Regions from separate parts of the Homo sapiens genome. Here all the other regions are linked to region 4. The links are contacts of gene promoters, found by promoter capture Hi-C in blood cells and fetal thymus (Javierre and others, 2016). All regions are on one chromosome and are shown on one strand. The core of a region is centred on a gene start or on the middle of the fragment in contact, and the rest is flanking DNA. Distances in the headings are between cores, read along the strand shown.

What was found. The method cuts DNA at HindIII sites, captures the fragments that hold promoters and counts their contacts. A CHiCAGO score of 5 or more calls a contact.
Region 1: a contact is called between a fragment that was not itself captured here and the fragment with the promoter of ZNF583 in region 4, in 2 of 17 cell types (neutrophils and activated CD4 T cells). The highest score is 8.2, in neutrophils.
Region 2: the fragment with the promoter of ZNF615 here is called in contact with the fragment with the promoter of ZNF583 in region 4 in 1 of 17 cell types (non-activated CD4 T cells); the score reaches 6.8 in non-activated CD4 T cells.
Region 3: a contact is called between the fragment with the promoter of ZNF160 here and the fragment with the promoter of ZNF583 in region 4, in 1 of 17 cell types (naive CD8 T cells). The highest score is 5.8, in naive CD8 T cells.

Annotation. Positions count from the first base shown.
Region 1 is chr19:51,981,458-51,984,696 of GRCh38, reverse strand. All of the region lies in intron 1 of ZNF350 (zinc finger protein 350), which reads left to right. Among named protein-coding and RNA genes, the nearest start is that of ZNF350, 3.8 kb to the left of the region's middle. The HindIII fragment of the contact is 2,712 bases long and covers 385-3,096 here.
Region 2 is chr19:52,006,469-52,009,744 of GRCh38, reverse strand. It overlaps ZNF615 (zinc finger protein 615), which reads left to right and starts at 1,534. Exons shown (of 7, transcript NM_001199324.2): 1 at 1,534-1,604; 2 at 2,415-2,452. LOC124904755 (a long non-coding RNA gene) reads right to left here and starts at 1,447. Exons shown (of 2, transcript XR_007067321.1): 1 at 1,266-1,447. RefSeq lists enhancers at 1,024-1,103, 1,164-1,773. The HindIII fragment of the contact is 6,775 bases long and covers 1-3,276 here.
Region 3 is chr19:53,101,383-53,104,727 of GRCh38, reverse strand. It overlaps ZNF160 (zinc finger protein 160), which reads left to right and starts at 1,306. Exons shown (of 6, transcript NM_001322131.2): 1 at 1,306-1,463. RefSeq lists a silencer at 854-1,263. The HindIII fragment of the contact is 3,069 bases long and covers 64-3,132 here.
Region 4 is chr19:56,402,987-56,406,287 of GRCh38, reverse strand. It overlaps ZNF583 (zinc finger protein 583), which reads right to left and starts at 1,956. Exons shown (of 5, transcript NM_152478.3): 1 at 1,836-1,956. RefSeq lists a silencer at 1,723-1,932 and an enhancer at 2,393-2,532. The HindIII fragment of the contact is 8,045 bases long and covers 1-3,301 here.

The sequences.
Region 1 (3,239 bases), core at 491-2,990, 4.4 Mb after region 4:
GTTTTCTATCACATTCCATTATGTAAAATATAGCAGTTTTTTCTATTATTAATTACATTTGTATTACCTAAAGCTTGTATTATTAAGAATAATGCATGTGTGAAAATTTGTGTAAATGTCTTTTGGTTCATATGTGCTCTCATATGGGGGAGGCAGAGATGTATATCTAGATGTGCACCTCGGAGGAAAATTGCTGCTTCATAGAGTGTGTATAAACTCCGTCTAAATAGATGTCAAACTGTTTTCTAAAGTGGTTGTACCACTTACAGTTCCCCTAGCAGGATATAGTTTGCTTTATAGGGTGCTTTATGTGGCCTCTTTAAAATATCTGGCCATACCCTAATAACATTGAGAGATTCTCCTATATTAATGTTCTTTAAAGCTTTATTGATATGTTTCTACCATTGAAATTGACAGTTGATTCTAAAATGGTTTTTGTGTATGTTGTGAGGGGGGTTTTAACTTTCTGTCCCCATCCCCAGTACCATTTATTGATTTTTTTTTTTTTTTTTAATTTTTTTAGATAGAGTCTTGCTCTCGTCGCCCAGGCTGGAGTGTAGTGGCGTGCTTGGCTCAACTGCAACCTCTGCCTTCTGGGCTCAAGTGATTCTTGTGCCACGGCCTCCCGAGTAGCTGGAATTACCAGCAGGTGCCACCTTGCCTGGCTAATTTTTGTATTTTTAGTAGAGATGGGGTTTCACCATGATGGCCAGGCTGGTCTCCAACTCTGGCTCAAGTGGTCCACCTGCCTGAAGGGGGCCTGCCCCTCCACACCTGTGGGTATTTTTTGCAAGGTGGAAATGAGAGACTGAGAAAAGAAATCAGACACAGAGAGAAAGTACAGAGGAAGAAAAGTGGGCCCAGGGGACTGGTGTTCAGCATATGGGGGACCCACACCGGCACTGGTCTCTGAGTTTTGTTAGTATTTATTGATTACTATTTTTACCATCTTGGTGAGGGGGGTGTGGCAGGACTATAGGGTAATGGTGGGGAGAGGGTCAGTAGGAAAACATGTGAGTAAAGGACTCTGTGTTATAAATAAGTTTAAGGAAAGGTCCTGTGCCTTGATGTGTACGTAGGCCAGATTTATGTTTGACTTTACACAGACATCTTAGTGTAGTAAAGAGTAGTATTGCCGCCAGTATGTCTCACCTTTAGTTATAAGGTGGTTTTCTCCTATCTTAGTAAATAGAATGTATGATTGGGTTTTATACCGGGACATTCCATTCCCAGGGAGGAGCAGGAGACAGATGGCTTTCTCTTATTTTAACTGTAAAGAGGTCTTCCTCTTTCACTAATCCTCCTCAGCACAGACCCTTTACGAGTGTTGGGCTGGGAGATGGTCAGGTTTTTCCCTTCCCACGAGACCATATCTCAGGCTGTATCAGTGGGAGGAAACCTTGGACAATACCCAGGCTTTCTTGGGCAGAGGTCCCTGCGGCCTTCCGCAGTGCATTGTGTCCCTGGGTACTTGAGACTGGAGAATGGTGATGACTTTTACCAAGCATACTGCCTGCAAACACATTTTAACAAAGCACGTCCTGCACAGCCCTAAATCCATTAAACCTTGAGCCAACACAGCACACGTTTCTGAGCACAGGGTTGGGGCTAGGGTTACAGATTAACAGTATCTCAAGACAGAGGAACTTTTCTTTGTACAGATTAAAATGGAGTTTCTTATGTCTTCCTCTTTCTATATAGACACAGTAACAGTCTGATCTCTCTTTCCCCCACACCTTCCTCAGCTTCCCAAAGTGCTAGGATTACAGGCGTGAGCCACGGCGCCCTTAGTTCCATTTATTGAAAAGACAGCTTTTATCTACTTCCCTGTAGTGCTATCATTGCCATTGAGTCTCTATATGTGCTTAATTCTGCTTATAAGGATTTTATTCTGTTCCTTTGTCCTATTTGCCTGTTATTGTACTAATATTGTGCTGTCCTAATTAAAGTAGCTTTATAAGTCCTCATAACTGATATGGCAAGTCTTCTAACTTTTTTTTCAAACTTTAAAAAAAAGTTTATAGCTATTTAAACTTTTCAGTATCAGTTTGGGATTGTGACTGTGATTTCATTGAATCTGTAGATTTGGGAGACTTGACATTTTTAAAATGCTTTGTTTTCCAGCCCATCTTTATAGTACATCTTTGCATTTATTTAAAACTGTTAAAATTTATCTCAGTAAATCTAATTTTAAAAATATATTCGAGTTCTTCTAAATGATATCGTTTATGTCAGCCTAAAAGAGGAAACTGCACAAAATACAATTTTAAAGAGTTTACTTGAGCCAAAATGAGGACAGCTGCCTGGGAAAATACTTTCAGGTTGCCTTGGTTAAGTGCTCTGTTAGGATTTTGTTAGAAACAGGTTTTAAAGTCAAAAGGGAACAAACCGTGAGCTGACATAAAGTTGTTTGGCAAGAATTCTCATTGGTTTACAGAAATAATATCAATTAACAATTGGCTGTACATTGTTAACTATGGGGTTTTATGAGTTAGGATGTCCAGTGAATGGCATTTTATGGCTACTCAGTGTGAGTTAGTCTAGAGCCTACATAGCAAGTGGCTTTAAGAGATAATTATTTAGCTTGAGGGGGAAATGAGATGTGACTATTGTCACATTAAATTTTTTTTTTAGTTTTTAATTTTTTCTTTTTTCTTTTTTTCAGGGGAACCCCTATCAGAAAGACTGCTGTCACATTTTAATGCCTCTCTAGACCTGATAATTTAAAGGGAGTCACATTCCTCAGATAAAAGATTCATTTCTTTCTCATTTATAAATTTTATTTTGTTTGTTGATGGTCTGTTCTGTCAGTTACTAGGAAAGGTCTGTTAAAGTCTTTAGTCTGAATTTTCTATTTCTTGTTTTTGGTTCTATTTTTTGCTGTATACATTTCAAGACTGTTGTTAGGGGTATACATATGGTGTATTTCTATGAATGAAGAGCCAAATTTCACCTCTTTTCAGTGAGCATTGTTTCTCTTTCTCTCTGTTAATTCTTTAGGATTTCTGGTCAGTTTTGTCTGAGATATAGTTATAACAGATTATCTTTGGTTACTCTCTCTGTGGCATATTGTCTCCAACCTTTTATTCTCAAGCTTCCCATATCATTTTGGTTCAGACATATCAACTATAATAACCGCATGTGGGGAGGCTGAGGCGGGTGTGTGATGAGATCCGGAGTTGAAGGCCAGCCTGACCAAGATGCTGAAATCCGATCTCTACTAAAAATACAAAAATCAG
Region 2 (3,276 bases), core at 285-2,784, 4.4 Mb after region 4:
GTGGCTCACACCTGTAATCCCAGCACTTTTGGAGGATGAAGTGGGAGGACTGCTTGAGGCCAGTTCAAGACCAGCTGGGCATCATAGTGAGACCCTTGTCTCTACAGAAAATTAAAAAATTAGCCAGGTGTGGTGGTGCCCACCTGTAGTCCCAGCTATTCAGGAGCCCAGGAGTTCCAAGTTACAGTGAGCTGTGATCTCCCCAGGCACTCCAGACTGGGCAACAGAGTGGACCTTGCCTCAAAAAGAGACAAAAAAAAAACAAAAAAAAAGAAAAACTCTCATATACCAAGGGTGAGAAGAGCAAATGGAACACGAACTTGACTCTGAAAAATAGTTTGACAATTTCTCTGTATATTTATATACTGATACCTATATCACACACATAGATTCACACAGGCATTTCCTTTCTCTCATTCTTCTAATATAGGAAGTTTGGTTGGATTTATATTTACAGTTCAGCATTGCCATGACTTTGCACATACTATTCGCGGTTGGCACACGTAGTATAACGTGATCTCCTTCTTAACCTTTCTTTCTTTTGTTTTTTTTTTGAGATGGAGTTTTGCTCCTGTTGCCCAGGCTGGAGTGCAATGACGCCATCTTGGCCCACAGCAACCTCCGCCTCCCGGGTTCAAGCGATTCTCCTGCCTCAGCCTCCCGAGTAGCTGGGATTACAGGCATGCGCCACCATGCCTGGCTAATTTTGTATTTTTAGTAGAGACAGGGTTTCTCCATGTTGGTCAGGCTGGTCTCGAACTCCCGCTCTCAGGTGATCCGCCCACCTCGGCCTCCCAAAGTGCTGGGATTACAGGCGTGAGCCACCGCGCCCGGCCTCTTTCCCAACCTTTTTTTTCTCACTGAAGTGGTCCTGTTCCCTTAATTTCTGGCCACTTCTCCTGAGTCCAGCCCTCATATTTGGCTCCACCTGGGTCCCAGGCTCTCCCCTCCGCCTTGGGAACTATACTTTCTGGCTTTTACTGGCTTTTCCCCATGCCTTTCACCCAACATAATTTTGGCACGTTCCAACCGTTTTCATTACCTAGTCTGTGACTGCTACCCCTGTTCCGTCAGCGTAGCTAACAGCCCTCTTCTGCGTTCAAAAGGCGCTTCAAGCTACTTTGTTAGAAATCTGGCTTTGGCCGAAGTGTCCCCTCTCGGCCGGTTCTCCTTTTCCCTCACAAGGAACTGTTTCCTAACCTTTGTACAAAGTGTAAACGTCGCGGCCATCTTAGCCTTCTATTCAGCTGCTGAAAGGGATTTACCTCCACGCCATTTTTGTCTTGTGTAAACTGGAGCCTCTGTATATGGACCCGTATTTATGAAGGGTTGAGGTGCCAGGAAATGGGACAGTTTCAGTGCTCTTTCATCTTCCCGGCCATCCCCGGTCACCCCCGGTCACCCCCGGTCACCAGCGCCAAAACGCGCCCTTTGCCTTGTGTACGTCAGATACTCAAAGATGGCGGCCCCCATGGAGCCAAGGCGACGAGGGCGCGGCCATCTTGCATCTGCGCAAACGCTGGGAACGCCTCCGACCCTGGATAGTCGCCGTCAGGCACTGAGGAGGCCGAGAGATGAGGCCGGAGCCCACCAAGTTCTGGGAAGTAAGTTCAGTCACTGGGTGGTCGCTGTGGTGACGGGGGAGGAAATTCTGTCCGTGGCTGGGCGTGTTCGTGGACAGTGGTGATGGACTGGTATCTGTCGGCGCCAGCGTTTGGCGACGCCAGTGGAATTCTTTCAGGAGCTTAGCGTGGGTCCGATTCCTATCGCAGGGGAACTACAAGAGGTCCGTGATAGGGTGTGTGTGTGTGTGATCGGGGTACCTCTGGGACCAGTCACAGGGTCCTCGTGTAGTTTGTGGTTAAAGATCTCTAGAGATCCGCTACTGAGTGCCCAAGTCACATTCTGGTGTCTTTGGTGTTGTCCTTTGGCGGGGCTCAGTGATTGCGAACTGGAGGGTTTGTTTTGTCAGCGAATCGGTTTATGGTTCAGGTTTTGTTTGGGACTAAATGATTGAGGAACTGTCTTGGGGGTTAAGGTACGGAGGTTTCTGATCCAGGTTTTGGAATTAATCCCGGTGGCGGTGGTGGTAGCGCCACAGATTCCGATGTGGGCTGCAGCTCTGGAGGCCTGGGAACCATGGCAGGTGATGGGTTAGCCCCAGCCCTGGCTGCTGGAACAGAATTGATGCTCATTAGCATTCCCCTTCTGCCCAAGACCCTTCTCCACGACTGGTTTTTAAATCCCCTTTGGCACCTTCCATCACCCCTTGGTCTTGAATCCTCAGAAATGGAAGTTTTTGGCGAGATCAGTCATCTAGCATACCTAAAAGTAGTATGTTTTATATTTAAGATGCGGCTTCTACCCTTTGTCCTGCAAGTTTCCAGCGTATCCTCTTGGATATTTCTTTTCAGGTTCTTTCTGACACAAGTAAGATAACATCTCTGCCATGGTAAGCTCGGTTACTCAAAGATAACCTTTGTCAAATTTTCAGAATATTTCAATTTTAGACGTGTATGTTATGTGCTTAATATTCATAATTCAGATAAATTATGTAAATGGTACTATTATCTTTTTCGCTTTATATTATGTAATAAACATTTAGAAGTTGTTTTTACTGTTTGAGCCGGTGGTACTATAAGTGCATTCACATTAAGTTTATGCGTACATTTGGATAGAAGTGAAATGTTTTAAAATGTTTAGGTATTATTTTTAGGAACATTTTATGATTATCCATTTATCCATGAATTTTGTTTTTCCTGCCTTTAATCTTCAATCTAGACTATTACTTTTATTGCAGTGTATTGCTTTCTGACTCCCCTTTCCTTATAATCTATAACAAAAGATAAATTAATTTTAAATATTTATTTTATATTTGGTCATCTTAATTCTTAGTATTACAATATTTTTCTCTCTGCCTAACATATTATTTTGTGAAAATTTTTGAACCTATGGAAATATTGAAAGAAGTTTAATGTTAATACCAATATGCCTACCACCTAGCTTTTACCATTAACATTGTATTAGATCAGCTCTACTGGTTTTCTAAGTATTCATCCATTCCTCTGTTTGTGAATCATTCCTTATTTGTTGTCGATTTTGGTATATTTCAAAGTAAGTTACAGACATAAGTACCATTCCTCTAAATAATTCTGTATATGATTAACTAGAATTCTACTAATAGCCCTTTAATTGCTTTATTTATTTACTTAATAGGGAGGCATCTGATTTACAGATAATTTTGGTTCGGTATAAAGTAGAGTAAAAGTGGATTTT
Region 3 (3,345 bases), core at 57-2,556, 3.3 Mb after region 4:
ACTTGTGCTTGTGCTTTCTAGCCTTGTTTACTCCTCCATATATGAAAAAAAGAAAAAAAAGCTTTTTAGTTTGTGTCTCTTGGACATTTTCAGATCTTGTGATTGGAACATTCTCTCTATTGCAATAGTCCTTTTGAATAAAATCTTCCTTCTCTAAGTCTGAATTTGTCATTTACAGTGGTAAATATCTTAATTGTTCTGAGATAAATTATGTATATTATCTTTTTGTGGCAAAGGACTTAATATATATTCAGTAGGTGAAAGTAGTTCCTGGGGCCAGGTATGGTGGCTCACGCCTGTAATCCCAGCACTTTGGGAGGCTGAGGCGGGTGGATCACTTGAGGTCAGGAATTCGAGACCAGCCTAGGCAACATGGTGAAACTTCATCTCCGCTAAAGAACGTGGTGGCGGGCGCCTGTAATCCTAGCTACTCGGGAGGCTGAGGCAGGAGCATTGCTTGAACCCGGGAGGCCGAGGTTGCAGTGAGCAGAGATCATGCCACTGCACCCCAGCCTGGACGACAGAGCGTGACTCCGGCTCAAAAAAAAAAAAAAAAAGTATAGGCGTTTGAGGTTGTCATCTCGCACGGAATAGAATAGTAAGTATAAAAAAGGACAATGCAATTTATATCTATTTTTTAAAAGTTACTGCTAATTTCAGGGCTTTTAAATTACTTAATTTTAATCGCAGAAACTTTTCCAGCATGCCATCACCGCTCCGTGTCAACCCATGTTCCCAGACTCCTGGGCTGCTTCAGCGTCAATAACATTACTGGGTAAACGCGCTAGCAAAAAATGCTTTCAACATAAACCGCCTCCATTCTAAGAGGAAAGCAGTTTGGTTTCCAAAATAACCTACACAACTGTGCTTTTAACTTGAAACCGTTTGAAACATCTACGCCGTTCCACAAGACACTACAGATGGCTCTGGGCGCTGGGCTGTGGGCATCACACGAAATCGCAGACCCTAACGTGTCCCGTCCAGCCCCGCCTCTCCCCCGGGTCCCTTCCTGGCGGTCCCTCTGCCTCCCTCCCCCGCGGTCCCTTCGCCTTCCTCCCCCGCGGTCCCTTCCCGCGGTTCCTCCCCGCCCTTCCCCGGCGGCTCCTCCCCGGCCCGCCCCCGGGTCCCTCCACTTGGTCACTCCCCACCCCTCCCCGGTGGCTCCTCCCCGTTCCTTCCCTGGGGTCCCTGCCTGGCGGCCCCTGCTTCAGCCCGGCTCTCTCAACGCCCCGCCCTTTTCCGGTTCCGCCCATCTCGGACCCCGCCCCGGGCCGCTCGGTCGCTTTCCTTCGCGCAGTTGCCCACAGACCCGGAAGTGGATCGTGCGGAGCAAGCATCACACCATGGCGTATGAGTGTTCCTCTGTGTAGACTCAACCTGCGCCTCGCCGTCCCCCATTCGCACACCCGATGCCCGGGGGTCGCTACGGACTTAAAATCTCCGCACCGCACCCTCCACCTCAGGTAAATAGGCCTTGCTGTGTGGGCCCGGAGACGCTTCCTTTTGGGTTAAAGTCGCCCTGAGGCTGGTCCCTGCCCCCGGTCTTTCTGCCTTGGGCCAAGTAAACACGGCCTTTCCCGGTTTTTTAAACGTTTAAGCAGGATTTTCCTGCTTAAAATCCTTTACTGACTCCTCCTCCCGCCCCGCATCGCTTAAAGTCCTCACCGCCTGCCCTGGGCGCCTCCCAGCCTCGCTCTCGTCGGCCCCTGGAGCGCAGCGCCGCCGACCCAGTCCCGGGGAGGCCGCGCCTCCGCCTGGTCCTGGGATCCTGCACATCCCACCCCTGTCCTAAGGCGCCGTCGCCCCCCACCTCCCTCCTCCTCGTGCCGGGCCCTGCTGCTCCCCAGGCCTCCCCTTCGCAGTCACCGCTTCCCTTGAGCCCTCGTTGGGGAGGTGCCCGGGGCCCGTCCTGTGACACCCGGTGTTTTTGCCTGCCCAGCTCCACCCCCTGGAAAATGTACTCCTCCAACATGCAGACATCTTACTACAAACCCTCCAGTGAATGTGTGGCCCAAGGGAATCAGGAGAAAGAGAGACAAAGAGCCACTGAGAGGAGATGGAAAAACCAAGAAAGAGAAAAGAAAAATGAGGGAGACCCATAAACAGATGGCAAAGTGGAGGATGGGTGAGAGATTTGCAGCGACAGAGTGAAAGAAGCAGTCAAGAAAGTAGCAGGGGCAGAAAAGCAATTGGCGAAATGTAGAGAAAAGCTCGATGTCCCGAGATGCAGGACAACAAGATAAGGAGAGGGACAGCAAAGAAGGAGCCTCCTCAGACAGAGAGTGGGGGAGAGGAGAAAGGATTTGGCCGAGGGCAGACAGAGCTGCGTGGTGCTGGGACAGCTGGAGGGGACAGCTGGTGACAAGGCGAGCAGAGGGAGCACCACAACACAGGGAGGCCTGGGATCTGGGAGTGCCAGAGAGTGGGGATAAGCGGGTGTAACAGGGAAGAGGGGATTTAACAGGGAGAGCAGAGGAGGCGCGGAGATGGGGTAAGAAAGAGGCAGAAATAGATGGAGATTGGGACGATGAAAAGATTGGAAAGAAAACGCCACAAGAGGTGAAACAAATTGGAAGAATGGAGTAGAACAGATATAAGGGGAAAAAACAAAGAAGGGAGAAACAGCAGAAGAAAAAAGAGGCACAACATCGTCAGAATCCTAGGGGGAAGATAAAAGGGGAAAAAGGCTGGAGAGACAAGGTGAAAGTGAGAGGCACAAAATGGGGGAGAGGAACACATAGTTATAAAGAAAGAGGGGCGCCCTGGGGCCAGGTGAGAGGTGAGTTGAGATTGGATATGACAATTTGATTTCTCTATTTATAATGTGTTACATTTAAATTGTAATCTAATTGTTTAAATTCTACATATAAGGATGAGAATTACAAAGCTCTGTGTAAAAGGCTTGTGCATTTTACAATTATGGCATAAGAGGCTAGCTTTCATTTGCCCATGCTGTTTAGCCATTGGGCAGTGACTTGCCTCATTCAGTTATGGGTCTCCCTCTTCCTGTTTCCGAGGATGGGGTAGGGTGGGGGCAGTGAAGAGAGGCAAGGAGTGACTGGCTGTGTCACTGCCTGGTGCCTTGTATTTACCTTTCATCTCACAGTTCATGCTGAAGGTTGAGATGAAGCTTATCTAATTCAGTCTCTTTTTCTATATGTAATTATTGCTGAAGTAAGCTTTTGTGGAATCCTGTATTGGCTCATGTCATTCTTTTCTAAATGTGATATATTTTCAATTTTTTCCCTTTGTAGAATTCCATATATAGTTAATATATCATATACATATTAAATAATATATATATTTTCAAAATGGTTTCCATTTGAAGTTAATTGTGTTGAGTTC
Region 4 (3,301 bases), core at 707-3,206:
GCAAGGATGACAGATAAAGCTACAAAGTGAAATTTCTCAGAGAAAGCATCTCTATACACAGAGTGAGTATCAGAGGGTCCATGTAGTGTGGTGGACACTCGATCAAAGAGTCAAGACGGCCTACTTCTGGTCCTGGCTTATGACAACCCACAACTGAAAACTAATCTCTTGACTTTTCTGGGCAATCTCCTCAGACAGAAAGAAGGAGAGAGGGAGGGAGGAGCAGGCTATGCTTGAACAGTCATCCAAACCCCCTATGGTGAATTCTTGTCCAGCAGACCTCACTGCCTTGAAGAATAAAGCCATTACCTATGAAGTGGCATAACTCAGTGGTAAGAACTACTAGGCTTAAGGATCAGAACACCTGGTCTCAAACAGCCAAACCACCACATGCTACCTATACAACCTCTGGCAAGTTAGGTAACCACTGCAAACCTGTTTCTCTATCAGTGAAATGGTAACTATTCCCTATCAATTGTTGGGAGGATTCTGAAATGATCTACATAAAGCATTGAGCACAGTGCTTAATTTTCATCTTTCTGTCATTTATTTTCATAACCAGCACATGGTAGGTCTCCCATTCCTTTTTCCTTTTAAATTCCTCACGTGCCCCCAGAGACTGAGAGGGATGGAAAAACTACTGTGCCAGAGGACAAGCAGCCAGCGTGGTCAGCTTTTCAGGCTTAAGGCTGAGGCTCCTGTCTGTCTCTCCCTTTTCAGCTCTCGTCCCTCCCTTTCTCCATCTTTTCCCCTTTATCTCAATCTTTCTGTCTCTCCACCACAACAGCAGTCTCCCAAACCCCAGAGCACACCAGCATCTCCAAGCACCCACACAGCTTCCTGCCCACACAAATCACAGACAACAAACCACATAGTTTCTCATTCTGGCACCTCCCCTGGCAACCTATGGACATGCCCCCACATTGTAGCCCGCCCTGCTCTCACAATGGGTCATATAAGGCCATTCTCAGTCACACTGTCACACTCACTGTCGGGATGACATACAGTGCTAAGTCACACCATCTCCCTCAGTCTCACATAATCACACACACTGTCATGCACAATCTCAAACACTGTCACATACAATCTTAGTCCAACAACAAAAACTCTGTTCACATACAGTTTCACATACAGTGACACAGTCTCACACACTGTCACACAAATTCTGTCGCAGTTTCATGTGGTCCCATATCAACAGCCACACACCGTACACAACCACACATAGCCTCACACACGGTGACATGGTCTCACATACTGTCACAGTCTCATCTAATCCTACACACACGGTCAAGCTCTGTTCACAAAGTCACACACACTGTCACACAGTCTTACATTATCCCACACACACAGGTCACACACACAGTGACATGGTCTTACACACTGTTCACACGTGGTCTACACATAATGACAGTTTAACACTGTCACACATTCCCAGTCTCACACATGGTGACGTGGTCTTAAGCACATACAGTGTCACACAGTCCCACACGGTCCCATATACTGTCAAAGGCTCCCGCATACACCGGGGCAACGGTCTCATACTGTCGCACACATTCTCACACCCAGTCTCATACTGTCACACATAGTCCCACATTTGTCCCACATGGTCTCACACTGACACACATATTCACACACGGCCTCACATTCTCACACTGTCACACACGGTCTCAAATTCTCACACAGTCACACATGGTCTCACACACGATTCCACACTGTCAAACACATTGTCACACACGGTTCCTTAATGTCTCACACATTCTCACACACTGTCACACACGGTCCCACACATGGTGGCATGGCCGCTCCCGGCGTCAGCTCCATCCCGCGCTCCTCACCGCCTCCTCCCTCCAGTGGGCACCTCCTTCGGCGCGGTCCTTGGAGGCCGGGGCTGGGCCAGGGCCCGGGCCAGGGCTCGATCCTGGCCGGCGGCCGCGCTCACAAAGGCGCCGCAGCCCTAGGGCAGGCCGCAGGGGCCGCTGGGAAATGGAGTCCGGGGCCGGCGCGGCGCAGAGGATGCTGGGATGTTGGCCGAGGGCCCCGGGCGGCCGCAGATCCCGCCGCTCAGTTGCGGGTAGTTACTGCTGCGCCCCTTTCCCTAGTAAGCCCACCTCCGCTGGCCTTCAGAATCCCACCCGGACCAGCTGAGCCCTCTCAGGCCGTTCGACTGTCCGCTCCCCCACCCGTTCCACCCGTTCCACCTGCGCAGGCGCAGCTGGTTCAGGTCCCCAAAGGCTGCCAGGCCGGGGTGCCAGCGCGGTGAGGCGCACGCGCAGTGACCGCGTCCGCGCTCCAGCGCTCCGGGTGGGGCTGTGAGTCCATCGCTGAGAAAAGGGAGCTGGAGGACCAGTGTGGAGCCTGAGCCAGCTGGAGAGGGGCCCGGTAGGATGTACGTGTGATTAAGCGCTCTGGCGGCCCGGGCTTTCTCTTTCCCTTTCTGTTTCTTCTCTCTCCGCCTTGCCCTGTCTTTCATTCGCCACTTATTGAGCGCCTGCTGTATCGGGCACTGTCGTGGGCCCTGGGCACACAGCAGTGAACAAGCAGACAAAATCCCCACCTCATGGAGCAGCATTCTAATGCGGGAGGAATTCAATAGGAAAAAATTAATAATAAAGGACACTGATGCATATTGGGAAGTAATGCGTATTATCAAGAAAAGCGAAGCAGAGTATTAAGATCATTCTTTCAGTTCTTCATTCTTTCAGTTATGCCCTCTGAATCAGTGGAAAAAACGCAAGGTGCATTTTTTTCTATTATCTCAACGACAACTAATCATAACAGAAGACTTTTCTGACCAAATATAGGGGAGTTTCCCACACATCTCAAGCAAGCAATGAGTTCAGTGAGTTCTGCAGCGGGCACCAGCTGGGTGTCCTCCAGTTTAATTCCGACGCCGTCTACTTGGAGATGGGTCAGACACCATTCGCTGAGGGCTCAGTCCCCAAGCCTGCCTCCCCCTTCCCACTTCCCACTAAAGTCTAGCCTCTGGAACATCTGACTCCACCACCTTCAAATTGGGATTTTCACCACCCCCTCTTTGCGGTTCGATATTTTGCTAGAGTGGCTCACGGAACTCAGGAAACACTTATGTTTACTAGTTTATTATAAAGGATATTACAAATGATATAGATGAAGAGATGCGTAGGGCAAAGTACAGAAAAAAGGGTGTTGCACCTTCCAGTAACCTCCACATGTTCAGCTGGGTGGAAGCTCTCTAAACCCTGTCTTTTGGGAGTTTTACAGAGGCTTCATTACATAGGCATGGTTGATTAAAATCCCGTCCCCTCCTTAGGGTTGGGGGTGG